5 separate regions of the Homo sapiens genome follow, and all the other regions are linked to region 4. The links are contacts of gene promoters, found by promoter capture Hi-C in blood cells and fetal thymus (Javierre and others, 2016). All regions are on one chromosome and are shown on one strand. Each heading gives the region's core, a stretch centred on a gene start or on the middle of the fragment in contact. The rest is flanking DNA. Distances are from core to core; before and after follow the strand shown. Region 1 has its middle 16 kb from the start of OR5B21. Region 2 overlaps ZFP91 (ZFP91 zinc finger protein, atypical E3 ubiquitin ligase). Region 3 overlaps LPXN (leupaxin). Region 4 holds the start of MED19 (mediator complex subunit 19). Region 5 holds the start of CNTF (ciliary neurotrophic factor).

Region 1 (2,700 bases), core at 30-2,529, 810 kb after region 4:
TGGTTCTACGTTCCACTGTGCTGGCCTCTTTCTCAGACAGCCTCCCCCAAGTGATGATAAAAATATTTATCAGCAGCAATGGGTTTTTATTATCCGCACAACTAGAATTCCAACGAATGGGAATGTTCTTTCTGAATAAATCTAGTAAAGGTCATTGGCTTTGCTGAGGTCACATGTCTATCCCTGATCCAATCACCTTCCTTCAGAAGAACAAAGTACTTTTATTGGTCAGACCTGGGACTGTACCTATTTCTGAGGCTGAGGTTAAAGTCAGCCTTGCCTAAACACATGGACCAAGAATGGGAGATGCAGTTCTTTGTGGAGAAACTAGACTGTGGGGAAAAACAGCTCAGAAATTCACTCCCCTTTCATTTCACGTCCCATCCTCAATTATATCCAATAATATTATTCAACATAGCATATCAAAGTCCAAAAACATTAAAATCCAAAATCAAATTCTCTAAGTTAAAGTTTAGAGAAAGTAAAGCCTTCTTTGATTCCTTGGTCTGTTCATTTTCAGCTTTAGGAGTTTTTCCAGTAACACCTGTGATCTGAGATATCTCTCGCTAGAATGGAGGTACTTATCCCAGGAAAAATGTTATTCCCATAATACAGTATTTATTGTGATTTAATGATATCCAAAATAGGAAGGGAAGATGGATGGCTCTCAACAGGGTGCCAGGAAGTTTATGCAATTGTCCGTAATCCATGGTCTATGAACCTAAACACAGTTAGGAGACTTCTCCCCACGGAAAATCAATTTAGGCACTATACGCTGACTATATCTAAGGTAGGGGAATGTCCTACATAAACTGTCTCCTTTCTTATAAATTTGAGACAACACTGCCTTCTGGCAAAGTTATAAATTTGCAACAAGTACAACCCAAGCACCAGCTTTTACCTGAGATTTCTTTCTTTTTTATCCTGTGGATCCCAAGAGATTTCCATTTCCCCACTGAGCTCTGTGTTCCCAGCACTTAATGTGCTGCACTGATGGTACCTAGTAACACAACCTCCACAATATTTTGGGGACAGGCAATCTCTTTTTCAGTGTCATATTTCAGTGGCTGCCACCACTGCCTTATTGAGGACGTGCTTATGCCTAAGACACTCGCCTCTAAAGGAAGCTGCTACTCTTTCTCACCTTGATTTCAGCTGCAAGATCTCCTTTTCCAGACTGCCAAACTGAAGGTGCTTTTGATGCTTCTCAGTGGTGCGCCCCTAGGGGCCCAGGAAGAGCAGTGCCACTGCCGCATGTTCCTCAGGACACCAGCATTCCTGGCTCTCTCCTCTGCCTTTGGGTTCTGTAAAGTTCTTGGACATGATCCCTCAGGATACTGACAATGCCTGCTTGCTTACCTTCTACATTACCTTGAAACTCAGAAACTCCAATATTTTCACTTTTGAACACACGAATTCAAGATTCATTGTCCTCTTCCCGCTTCTTACCAATATCCAGCTTTTAAAGTATTCACATCTCCTCCACAAAGCCCTTGTGCTTTCGGGAAACTTAGTCCTGCTTGTAACTTTGGAAATAATTCAGTTTGGTTTAAGCCAAGCTGCAGAATCCATTCCCCCAGCAAAAATTACTGGTATGTGACCTAGGCTAGACCAGTGAGGATGAATCCCAGAACTTTTGCTTGCAAATGCTCGATAAAAGCACTCTTGCTCCCCCTACTGGTTATGAAACAAGAAGCATGCGCTGGCAGCCATCCTACAACTCCAAGAAGAGTGTGTGATAGAACTTGGATGGAAAAATAATTGTTGTCTTTATCAAAGTATTACCTTGGAAGAGACTAAATTTACTTCAAAGAAAAACTGACCAAACTAATTGAGGGACTCCCCTTTGAGAATACAGTGCCAACTCTAGAGCATATTCCTTTCTATATGTTTATATTCACTGGTGGAAAATCCCTGTCCTGTGAGGGTGGGTTTTATTTTTTAAACATCCTAGAAGTTACTCAAAACCAAAAGTAAATAAGTACGTGATCAATTTTAGTAATGGCATTTCCAGGGTTTTTAAAAAGCAGAACTTTTTACTTGTGAGTAGTTTCCTTATTGCTAAAACACTGGTCCTGAAGTCAGTATCTCTTTTTGAGCAAATAAAACCACTTCCGTTCAATGTGGGAAGAAAGTGTTTTCACTTCTTAATTACATCTTAGTGAACTCTGGATTTTCTTTGACATTTAAAAATAGTTAAATTCTATTGAATCTCAAAATAGCTAATCCTTTTTAAAAAAGTTTTAGCACCTGTACATTTCTTTTTAAGGGCTAAAACTCCAAGTTTATTTTGTCAAATTGCCAAGGCAACCAAGAACATTGCCATATTAACACCTGCGTGTGACATCGTTGAGTGAAGACATTGCAAAGAGGATGTTTAAAAGTTGAATGTGTGTTCTGCATAGTCTGGCGCTCTCAGACAGCCAAACAGGATAGAGGCCAGATGGTTCCGTATCTGTGTGGCCTCCCACATATCTTACATGCATTTGGAGTTCCTATTTTATAGAATTAACTGTTGCCAATTCCTTGTAACTCTCACAACCCCCTTATTATCCATTCCAACAAAGGACATAGATATAATAAAGTTTGGCAAGAAACATTTAATCCATTTCAGCTCTCCCAAGTAGTACTATTCCTCTATCAATCTAAAGACATCAAATTTTGTCCTATTTTTAAAAATACCTCCAGTGAAGGAGTTTT
Region 2 (2,700 bases), core at 181-2,680, 890 kb after region 4:
GAATTTTATCCCTCCAAAAATGTGTTGAGTCCTAGCCCTTAATACCTGTAAATATGAACTTATTTGGAAATAGGATCTTTGCAGATGTAATCAAGTTATAATGGAGTTATTCTGTATTACAATGGGCCCTAATCCACTATGACTGATGTCCTTATAAGAATAAGGACATCACACATGGGACAGGAGGAAACACCGTGTGATGATGGAGATAGAATTGAAGTTAGCAGCTATAAGCCAAGTTGTTGACCACCACCAAAAGCTAGGAAGAGGCAAGGAATGATTCTTCTCAGAGTCTGAGAGGGAGTGTGGTCTGTTATTGTGTTGATTTTGGACTTTTATCCTCCAGAAGTATGGGAGAATAGATTTCTGTTGTTTTAAGACATCCCAGTTTGTTGTGATTGGTAGAGCAGCCCTGGTAGACTAATACATTATTTCAGCTCTCTCTTGCTTACTATTCGCATGTAATATCTTAATCCATTCTTTTACTTTGAACCTGTTTGTGTCTTTGGATCTAAAGCAAACTTGTCCACTATGGCCTGCAGTCTGAATGCGGCTCAGAACGGCTTTGAATGTGTCCCAACACAAAATCGTAAACTTTCTTAACACATTATGAGTTCTTTTTTAAATTTTTTTATCTTATCAGCTATCATTAGTGTATTTTATGTGTGGCCCAAGACATGTCATCTCCTTCCAGTGTGGCCCAGGGAAGCCAAAAGATTGGACAACCAGGTCTAACGTGAGTTTCTTGTAGACAGATTGTAGATTGGTTGTATTTTTTGTTAATCCATTCTGCTAATATGTACCTTTTAATTCCACACTATATGTATGTGTAAACTACCGATAAGAATGGCCTGCCATTTTGCTTTGTGTTTTCTACCTGTCTTAATATCTTTTATTTTGATCTTTATTTTCTTTGTATTTCCTTGTGTTGCAGATATATAGCAGTGTACCATCTTCTCTTTTCATTTTCTGTATATTTTTATTTTCTTAGGGGTTACCTGGGGATTGCATTTAGTACTTTAAACTTTATCTAGTTTAATGCCAGTTTAGCTTCAGTAGTAAACATATCTCTGCTCTGTACTATTCTGTGCCTCACCATTTATGTTATTGTTGCAAAGTGTATGTTTTGATGTCAAATGCCCATTAACATAAATTTACAGTTGCTATTTTGTACATTTGTCTTTCAAATCATGTAGGGAGAAAAAGGAGTTAGAAATCAAAAGTACAATATCATATTTTTGCCTCTGTAAAATATGCCAGTGTTTTAATTTATGGCTTTAAGTGCTCTCTAGTGTCCTTTAATTTCATCTTAGAGGATTCCTGATAGCATTTTTTATAGGGCAGATCTACTAGTGATAATCTGTTTTTGATTTTCTGGTAATGTCTTAATTTCATCTTCGTTTTTAAAGAATAGTTTCGGCAGCTATAGAATTCTTGCTTGACGATTTTTTTTTTTCCTTTCATCACTTTGTTATCACACTGCCTTCTGACTTCCATGGTTTCTGATGAGCGGCTGTTAATCTTGTTGAGTATTCCTTGTTGCTTATGAGTCACTTCTTGCTGTTTTTATGGTTCTTTGTATTTGTCTTTCTACCGATTGATAATAATGTGTCTAGGTGGGGATCTCTTTCATTTATCCTACTAGGAGTTAGGTAAAGTTCTTGTTTGTACAGACTATATTCCCCAATAGTTTTTCAAATATTCTTTCTGTTCATTTTCTCCTCTCCTTCTGCAAATCTTATTATGCATCTGTTGGCATGCTTAATGGTTGTCTAAACGATCTCTTAGGCTTTATTTTCCTTTATTCTTTTTTTCTTTATATTCTTCATACTGGATCATCTCTGTTGGCCTAGCTTAAAGTTCACTGATTCTTGTTTTTCAAGTCTGCGGTGAATTTTTAATTTCAGTTATTATACTTCTCAGCTCTAGAATTTTTTTCTCTTAGTTCCTTTTTTGTGGGGGGGGTGTGGTTTCACTCTTGTCGCCTATGCTGGAGTGCAATGGTGTTATCTCGGCTCACTGCACCCTCCACCTCCTGGGTTCAAGTGATTCTCCTACCTCAGCCTCCCAAGTAGCTGAGAATACAGGGATGCGCTGCTACAAGCAGCCCAGCTAATTTTTGTATTTTTAGTAGAGACGGGGTTTTGCCATGTTGGCCAGGCTGGTCTCGAACTCCTGACCTCAGGTGATCCGCCCACCTTGGCCCTCCAGAGTGCTGGGATTACAGGTGTGAGCCACTGTACCCGGCCTCTCTTGGTTCCTTTTTATAGTTATCTTTTTATTGGTATTCTGTATTTGTCGAGACATATTTCTTCTGATTTCCTTTAGTACTTTGTCAGTGATTTTCTTTAGCTCTGATTGTCTTTAGTTCTTTAAACATTGTTTTTTACAACTTTTATTTTAGATTCGGGGGTACATGTGCAGGTTTGTTACTGGGGCATATTGTATGATATGAAATTTAGGATACAAATGATCCCATCATGCAGGTACTGAGCATAGTACCCAATAGTTTTTCAACCTCCCCCCAATAATCTCCAGTTTCTGTTGTTGCCATCTTTATGTCCATGAGTACCTAATGTTTAGCTCCTACTTTGGTCTCTGTGGTCTCTAAAGGTTCTGGTCCTTTCGCTTATATTCATCAAGTGATTTGACAGATTTCCTTAAACATCTTTACTCACCTTTTTCTTGATTCAGTGCTCA
Region 3 (2,761 bases), core at 63-2,562, 840 kb after region 4:
GGAGAAAAACAAAGTAAAGCAGCTTTCTGATTCCATATTTGTTCAAAACAAACATAAAAAGGAGAAATTAAAAAAAACAAGACAATTCAGAAAACACATGAAACAAACATACAAAGGGGGAAGAATGGGTCATGTAGAAAGGATCAAGGATAAAAAAAATTTAATAAAAACTTGCCAATCATGGAAGCTAGAAGACAGTGAAGCAATGTCTTCAGAATTATGAAGGAAAATAGTTTCCACTTAGAATTCTATGCCCAGGCAACTTAAGGGCAATGACAGAATAAAAATATTTTCAGATATTCAAGTTCTCAAAAATTCTTTCTCAGAAAGCTACTAGGGGATGTTCCCCACCAAAATAAAGGTGGTAACATGTATAAAACATAGACATGGGACCCAGGAAACAGAGCATCCAAAGAGGAAACTAATAAAAGGAATTTCCAAGAGTAATTACTAGATATAATTCTAAGTTAATGAACCAGAATGACTGCTACTCAGCAGGAAGAAATCATTTCATGTTGAATCAGGAGGAGGAAAGTCTCCTGGAGGGATATCTCCAGAAAAAAAAAAAAGAAAAGAAAGAAACTGACTTGTTGCCAGATGTAGTTGGCCATTTTGAAAAGAATTTCACAGTTCTGTTGCATAACTTAGTGATAAGTACAATAAAAACTAAGCCAATTTCAAAAAGGATTCAAATGTTAACTTTAGAAAAAAATGAATTTATACCAAAAGGACACTGTGATAATAATATTAACACTACTATACCTCCATGTGCTTGGCACTATTCTAAATACCACGCTTGTATTGTCTCTAAATCCTCATAACAACCCTATAAGGTAGGCAATTTCATTAGGACTATTTTACTGATGAGGAAAGTAAGGTACAGAGATGTTAAATGACTTGAACAAATACCACAACCCAGATTTGAACCTGGAAGTCTGACTCTAAAATCCAGACTCTAGTGTAGTCAGTTTGCTACATGGCTTACTTGTGAGCAGTATTCTATGATTGTCAACATATGCACACTTAATACTGATCTAACCTGTAATTATGACATAATTATATATTGAAAAAACAGGGGAGGGGAAATATGTTAGGAGTGAGTGGGGTAATAATAACATTTCTAAACCTCATCTTCCCTCTTAGACAGTCAATACATAATGGTTAAAACTGGAAAAATAAAACAATCTATAACAATATAAAGTTATTATTTAAAACACATAAGCAGGCCAGGCGCAGTAGTTCATGCCTGTAATGCCAGCACTTTGGGAGGCCAAGGCGGGCGGATCACGAGGTCAGGAGTTCAAGACCAGCCTGGCCAATATGGTGAAACATTGTCCCTACTAAAAATACAAAAATTAACCGGGTGTGGTGGCAAGTGCCTGTAGTCCCAGCTACTTGGGAGGCTGAGGCAGGAGAATCGCTTGAACCCAGGAGGTGGAGGTTGCAGTGGGCGGAGATCGCACCAGAGATCGCACCACTGCACTCCAGCCTGGGCAACACAGTGAGACTCCGTCTCAAAAAAACAAACAACAACAACAACAAAAAATAAGTAAATATCAGAAGAAACAGCTAAAATAATTTGGAGAGGAGAACTGGATTTGGAGATGAGAAAGGGACTTTTTCAATATTCAACAAGAAAAGGCTTTTTCAATATTACCCTTGAAGTAATATTTGAGTTTTTAAACTATGCATTTGTATTTCTGTGATTTAAAAAATCAATTTAAAGGGAAATTATAAATGTTGGAGAAAGGTAGGGAGGGATGGTATCTAGTACTGAAATGGGCACTTTGATAGTACTGATAGGAACCAGGACTCCCGTGACTACCAGGAAAGGTGTTGCTGGTCTTATAACTACCCACTGGGGTGTGGGATACAGCCTCTCAAGTCGGGTCATACCTTCTGCACCAAACACCTCTCCGCAGTGAGAGCAGAAGAAGTGCTCTGGGTGCCAGGTCTGGTTCATTGCTGTCAGCACTTTCTGGAAAGGGAACACACAGATATTATAATGATGCAGAAGTTGTAAAGCATGACTCTGGTTCTAAGTGAGTGACTGAAAGCTGGAGAGGAGCGGGGATTTACTTACATCCAGGATGGGAGCAGCGCAGTAAGCACAGCGTGGAGAAAAAAGTTGGTGGTAGTCGTTGGGGCAGTAGGCCAAGCCACTCCGCTCAAAGAAGGGACTGGAGCCAATCTCTTCTTTGCAATGAGTACAGACAAAATGCTCAGGATGCCATGATTGCCCTAGAGCATGGATCACCTGTGGAGTGAAATAAAGCCTGACACAGGAGGCCAGTTGAGTGCTCTACAGCCTACAGGTTGCACAACTCTAGGGAGCACTCTTCACATTGTACCCCTTGTAGACAACACGCCCTGGAATTATACAACACTGAGGCCTAGACCTAGGTTCCACCTAAGGCCATCTGTGGTCTGTGCTTTATGGATTGATAATAAAAGGATGCCCACTTCCGGGACTGATCACTGTGATGAAAGCCTGTAAATGTTCACAACCACTGCACTGCCACAGGGGGTGGCAGAAACAACATATAGCACATTGATGACAGAGAAGTTGTAACTGTAGCCTTAGTGTGGAAGGGACCCCTGGAAGAGGAAAAGGCCAAATGACAGTTTTTATTCCTCTAGTTTGAACACTTTATTCCACGCCCCATGCAGTCAGGTCTCAAAGCTTTTTATCATAGCTTCGGTGAAGGACGATGCAGAACAGGAGTTTGCAGCTGTGACTTGGAGCTGAGTTCAGCTGAAA
Region 4 (2,700 bases), core at 14-2,513:
AAAGCGCTGGGATTACAGGCGTGAGCAACGCGCCTGGCCACCTTCAATTTTTATCATGTTTTCTTTTCCTAGCATTAACCACTTTCTGACATTATCTTGTTTACAATGCCTCCTCCACTGAAATGTACATCCCAAAAAAGGCAAGCATCTTGTCAGTCTTGTTCACAACTGTCTCCAGCATTTAGAAAAGTGCTTGGTACATAGGTACTCAACAAAATAATTTTTTGAATGAAGAGTTTGGTTCGATTCTTATCCCTTTTTTGATCAGACCAGGAAATGCCGGAACCTTAGAAGGAAGAATGGCAACTTGCCCCAAACCAATAGCAAGTCTGTGGGAGACCTGTAACTAAAACTTTGGGTCCCCAAAGATATTAAATCAGGCCTCTCGAGTTCCAAACTCAAACCCTGGATTTTGTTTGTTTTGAGACGGAGTCTCGTTCGCCCAGGCTGGAGTGCAGTGGAGCAATGTCGGCTCTCTGCAACCTCCGCCTCCCGGGGTTCAAACGATTCTCCCGCCTCAGCCTCCCGAGTAGCTGGAATTAAAGGTATACGCCACCACGCCCAGGTAATTTTTGTGTTTTTTGTGGAGACAGGGTTTCATCATGTTGGCCAGGCCGGTCTCGAACTCCTGACCTTAGGTGATTCGCCCGCCTCCGCCTCCCAGAGTGTTGGGATTACAGGCGTGAGCCACCGCGCCCAGCCCTAGGTCATTTTTTAGAGAGACATAAACCAGTGTCAGGGACACAGCCTGGACATGGTGCAAAAGACAGTAACGGAGATGCACTACGCCCCTGCCCGCCATTCATCCCTTTGGTTGAATTCAACTCATCCTGGTTGAATTCAAGTCATCCCTCTGCTTGTGAATCCTAACAGCGCTTCCGACTTAGGGCTCCACAGTCCGGGTATGCGTTGCCTAGGTTACCTCGCACCTCCGCTAGCCGGCTGAGAGCCACGCCCATCACCTCCTCTCTAAGATTTGATTGGCTGGCTTTGGCAAGGCCGAGTACTCACCTGGCAGTTCCCTCATGAGGTAAAAAGGGCCACAGCCAGCTCCTGACTTGTCCGCGCCAGGAGGAGCCGTGGCCGCGGTGGGAGGCGGGGCCGTGCCGGGTCCCCCGCCCGCAGGAGGCGGTGGCGGGGGTGGAGGCTTTCCTGGTCCGAAGCCGAGTGCGGTTGGGGGCGGTGGTGGGTCAGCCTGAGCCCCAAACAGTGCCGTGAAATTCTCCATCGTACCCTCCGCCCCGGCGCTGTCTCCGTGTCTGCCGTTGGTAATTTTCATTGGACAATGCTTTCAAGGAGTACCCCCCCGCCCTTTCTCAAGGAGCCGCTTGTCATTGGATGCCTCAGGCACCGCCTACCTTTTTTCAACAACTACTTCCGTCGCCTTATGAGAACGTTCAGGAAGTGCTATTTAACCTTATTAGAGTCTTCTGCTAGCTCTGCTTGCTACAGTCCAATAAAATGACTTAGGCGGATAAAGCGACAACTAGACTAACCAATAAAATATTAAGTTCTTTTTTGGGTTCTGACCTACCACAGCGTTCAGAGAACTACATCCGGGTTTAGAGGCCGTACGTTTGCGATATAGCCCAATAGCAGTCGTTATGGTGGGGGAGGCGGGGCGAGACCTACGACGCCGGCGAGCAGTGGCCGTTACGGCCGAAAAGATGGCGGTCTTGGCACCTCTAATTGCTCTCGTGTATTCGGTGCCGCGACTTTCACGATGGCTCGCCCAACCTTACTACCTTCTGTCGGCCCTGCTCTCTGCTGCCTTCCTACTCGTGAGGAAACTGCCGCCGCTCTGCCACGGTCTGCCCACCCAACGCGAAGACGGTAACCCGTGTGACTTTGACTGGGTGAGCCTCCCGCGTGTTAGTACCCCGCGACCTTGACTGTCCCTGCCCTTGCAGGTGTATCTGGGAACCCTGGGGTTTACCTCTCTGAGGACACCTGAGGTTCCGAGCCTGTAGCGGACTTAGAGACTATTAAGTGCAGGGTCCGAACCATCATCGAGTCTAAACTTTGTGTTTAAGATGGGAAAACGGAACATGTTAGTCGTAGCCCATGCACAACGGCCCAACAGCTTTTGACTGTTGAGTCCAGGTTTCTTTCTGTTTCACCATTGAGACTAATTAACAGCCCTATCAAAACTGTACATACACGTGTATAACGTTTTACAGTGCCGCTCATTATGTAAAGCCTCCTGAGGAGCCAGTAAGGTAGACAAGGCAAGTAGTAATATTCCTGTTTCATTGGTGAAGAAATGGATCTCGGTATATTTAGGTGACTTGCCCCAGGTCATACAACTAATGAGTGCCTGGGACTTGAAACTACTCTTCTGGCCACACTACCTGCACAACACTGTCAGCCGCTTCTTAATTCAATAAACATTTCTAGAGTGTACACTCTAGGCACTCTGCTTGATCCTGAAGATGCGAAAGTGGATAAAATTTGGGGGCTACTGTAAAGGAATTGTAAAAAATACGTTGTAAAGAAATCTTTGGGATTTCTTTGGGAAGTGTCCCAAGCTCCTTGCTGTGCTTCCTTGGTATGGGTGGAGGGACTGCTCGGAACATAAACTTAAAGCACTTTCCCTTCTGCCATATAGCATGTAGGGGCCAAGGAAAAGCTTCCCCTTTGCTCTCTGAGGGTTTGTTGAAAAATCAACCGACAAAGGGCACATTAATAGGAGAAAGGCAT
Region 5 (2,700 bases), core at 26-2,525, 910 kb after region 4:
TTCTCAAAATTGAATGTTTATATCAAGTACTGATTTTTATTTTAAAAAAGAAAAAACTATAATCCTTCTGCCTTCCAAAAGCCATGCTGTGATAGCTGCCCAGGCTGCTCTGTTACATCTCCCATTTATTGTTTACTTTTATAAATTTGCTTCTAAGATGGTATGTGTTTCAGCTTATTGGCAATATCTATGATATAAATAATGAAAGCTAATTATTTCATTTAGCCCTTACCCAATAAGCATCATTTTCTAAGTTAAATGCAATAGAATGACAACCCTCCAAGTACCTTTTAACTTTTATACTGTCATTTCAAAGCCCAGCTCATTCTCTTATTTTAAGAAGCATGTGGTATGACTGGGTAGGGGAGAAAAAAGGAAAGCATGTTGTCACTTGAGTGAGACTGCTTTAGAAATGTTACCAAGTTAGCGTTGGGTGTTTCCTGTTCTTTGGAAGAGAACAGGCCTAAACAGTACCTTCCTCCTCCTATGTAGCTACCAGGAAGGCACCGTGATTGAAATTAGAGATGCTTCCTTGCTTGATTTTTAAGTATAAATTAAATTACCTTTAAAAAGTACGTAAGGTTAGGAGTGAAAAAAATCCTGTTTTTAAAGGACTTCACACACCCTTTGTTTCTTGAACAAGATGTGAACTACCTAAACAGAAAATGAAATTGGAAAGTCAGTGGGAGAGACAACTATAGAATCAGACTTCTATTTAAATTCAAGCCTCGTTACTTGATTTTGTGCATGTTATTTCTTGAAGTTTCAGTTTCTTATATGGAGAAATAACATTTACCTCAGAAATATTCTGAAGATCAAATGGAATTGCTTTAAAGTATTTAGCTTACTGACTGACCCATGGTAGATACTTAATAAATGGCAGCTGTGTCAATAACAATTTTATTGAATGAACATTTCGCCAGCCTATGAGAAAAAAGACATGGGAAGCATAAGGGAGAATGATAATAAAATGAACTAATTCTAAGTGTGTGAGATAGATTACATTAGGCAGGGGTGCCATGAGGATTGGTATGATAGTGACCTTGTTGCTAAGTGCAAAAGCAAAACAATGACATAGAAACAAGTGTGCTAAGTACTGAGTGGAGGAGAGAGATGGAGGCAGACGCTGCAGGGGAAAAAAAATCTGATTAAAAAGGGCCCTTTGATTCCACAGGCACAAAAATCCACAGCCAGGAATTTGCTACCTCCTCTGAGTCAGGCAGGGCGTGGGGGTGGGGTGCACAATCCCATTAGTAGAGAATGCCCAGTGGGTTTAGTCTTTGAGAGTCACATCTCTTATTTGGACCAGTATAGACAGAAGTAAACCCAGCTGACTTGTTTCCTGGGACAGTTGAGTTAAGGGATGGCTTTCACAGAGCATTCACCGCTGACCCCTCACCGTCGGGACCTCTGTAGCCGCTCTATCTGGCTAGCAAGGAAGATTCGTTCAGACCTGACTGCTCTTACGGAATCCTATGTAAGTTGCCTATTTTGCTGTTATCTGTTTTCCCTTCATCTTTTTTGATCCAGCAACTTACCATCACGCATCAGCTCCATTACCAATTGTGAAAGCTCTAATCATATAGTCATTCATATAGGTTATTTGACATGGGCCCTTCCCTTGAGGAAACCCATGTGACTTTATTTTCTTCCTCTGGGCTGTTTAGGAGATGAAGTTACTTGAATGAGAAAATATATATGGAGTTCTAGAAAGGATTGGTTTATATGTCTTGGAGGCTATTCCAAATTTATTGGCATATATTCTGAATACTACTAGAACAGATTAGCCATGGGCCCTCTGGGTTCTTCATAGCCATTGTTCTGAATTTTTTAGCTATGTAAATGAAAGGTTTATGGGATAGGAAGAGTACTATGAACGTGGGAGGAATTTGTAAATCCTACCAATTTCTCCTATATAGCATTAGCCACCCACCTTTTAGTATTCTGCATCAAAAGTAGATTGTGTCTAAAGAGAAAGGTAAGCTATCAAAAGGATCTCCTAGAAGATTCATTGGAAACTTGTGGAAGTGTCAAATTCTTGAGCTAATTCTGGAGTTCCAGATTTGTCTTCTAACAGTAAGGGGATCCCCATCAATTTCCACCTGAGATATGCTGTGGAAATACTCCAACCCCTGTGGAGAGTTTTGAATTTAGGCTGAGAACTGATTTATCTTTGTACAGCCTCACCAGACAGAAATCAGACTCTTTGGGAGTGCTCAATGGGGAGAGGGAAGTTAGAGAAATTCTACAATGGCTATATTCCAAGTTTTCCTAGTTGTGGCCAGTGTCTTTTACAAGTATGTTTAAAAATACTTTAATATGATTAAAATATTCCAGTTAATGAGAGAGTTTGAAGTGAGAAGGAAAAATTCTTCTAAATCAGTTTTCAACCTTTAGAACTCAATAAAATCTGAACATTCTTCTAAGAAAAATCCATAGGTAGTCAATTTCAGGCAGTATTGGGTCTTTCTAAAGTCCAGTCATAGAGCCCAAATTAAGAGTTCCTACTGTAGACATATTATTTACTTTACAACTTGGATCCTTGGCCAGAGAGATGAGTGAGATTTTGTATGAAATTTAGGGGTGATTTAAGGACACTGGGGTGATGACAGAAGATGTGGTGTTTTCCTGTATCCTCGGCCAGGTGAAGCATCAGGGCCTGAACAAGAACATCAACCTGGACTCTGCGGATGGGATGCC

Evidence for each region. Contacts are between HindIII fragments. The CHiCAGO score rates a contact against its expected background, and 5 or more counts as called.
Region 1: a contact is called between a fragment that was not itself captured here and the fragment with the promoter of MED19 in region 4, in 7 of 17 cell types (naive CD8 T cells, naive CD4 T cells, total CD8 T cells and 4 more). The highest score is 19.4, in naive CD8 T cells.
Region 2: a contact is called between a fragment that was not itself captured here and the fragment with the promoter of MED19 in region 4, in 2 of 17 cell types (naive CD8 T cells and naive CD4 T cells). The highest score is 8.1, in naive CD8 T cells.
Region 3: a fragment that was not itself captured here is called in contact with the fragment with the promoter of MED19 in region 4 in 3 of 17 cell types (total CD8 T cells, naive CD8 T cells and total CD4 T cells); the score reaches 7.1 in total CD8 T cells.
Region 5: a contact is called between the fragment with the promoter of CNTF here and the fragment with the promoter of MED19 in region 4, in 5 of 17 cell types (total CD8 T cells, naive CD8 T cells, total CD4 T cells and 2 more). The highest score is 13.3, in total CD8 T cells.

The regions. Positions count from the first base shown.
Region 1 is chr11:58,523,092-58,525,791 of GRCh38, forward strand. No RefSeq gene overlaps it. Among named protein-coding and RNA genes, the nearest start is that of OR5B21, 16 kb to the left of the region's middle. RefSeq lists a silencer at 1,505-1,799. The HindIII fragment of the contact is 3,138 bases long and covers 1-2,700 here.
Region 2 is chr11:58,604,118-58,606,817 of GRCh38, forward strand. All of the region lies in intron 2 of ZFP91 (ZFP91 zinc finger protein, atypical E3 ubiquitin ligase), which reads left to right. The region is part of intron 2 of ZFP91-CNTF (ZFP91-CNTF readthrough (NMD candidate)); the gene reads left to right. Among named protein-coding and RNA genes, the nearest start is that of CNTF, 17 kb to the right of the region's middle. The HindIII fragment of the contact is 3,636 bases long and covers 1-2,700 here.
Region 3 is chr11:58,547,890-58,550,650 of GRCh38, forward strand. It overlaps LPXN (leupaxin), which reads right to left. Exons shown (of 9, transcript NM_004811.3): 6 at 2,084-2,257; 7 at 1,897-1,978. Among named protein-coding and RNA genes, the nearest start is that of LPXN, 27 kb to the right of the region's middle. The HindIII fragment of the contact is 2,737 bases long and covers 1-2,681 here.
Region 4 is chr11:57,710,952-57,713,651 of GRCh38, forward strand. It overlaps MED19 (mediator complex subunit 19), which reads right to left and starts at 1,264. Exons shown (of 5, transcript NM_001317078.4): 1 at 1,012-1,264. The coding sequence starts at 1,228. TMX2 (thioredoxin related transmembrane protein 2) reads left to right here and starts at 1,642. Exons shown (of 8, transcript NM_015959.4): 1 at 1,642-1,856. The coding sequence starts at 1,668. TMX2-CTNND1 (TMX2-CTNND1 readthrough (NMD candidate)) reads left to right here and starts at 1,572. Exons shown (of 21, transcript NR_037646.1): 1 at 1,572-1,856. RefSeq lists a silencer at 895-1,234. The HindIII fragment of the contact is 3,048 bases long and covers 1-2,627 here.
Region 5 is chr11:58,621,390-58,624,089 of GRCh38, forward strand. It overlaps CNTF (ciliary neurotrophic factor), which reads left to right and starts at 1,276. Exons shown (of 2, transcript NM_000614.4): 1 at 1,276-1,477; 2 at 2,645-2,700. The coding sequence starts at 1,364. ZFP91 (ZFP91 zinc finger protein, atypical E3 ubiquitin ligase) reads left to right here. Exons shown (of 11, transcript NM_053023.5): 11 at 1-161. It overlaps ZFP91-CNTF (ZFP91-CNTF readthrough (NMD candidate)), which reads left to right. Exons shown (of 13, transcript NR_024091.1): 12 at 1,377-1,477; 13 at 2,645-2,700. The HindIII fragment of the contact is 9,454 bases long and covers 1-2,700 here.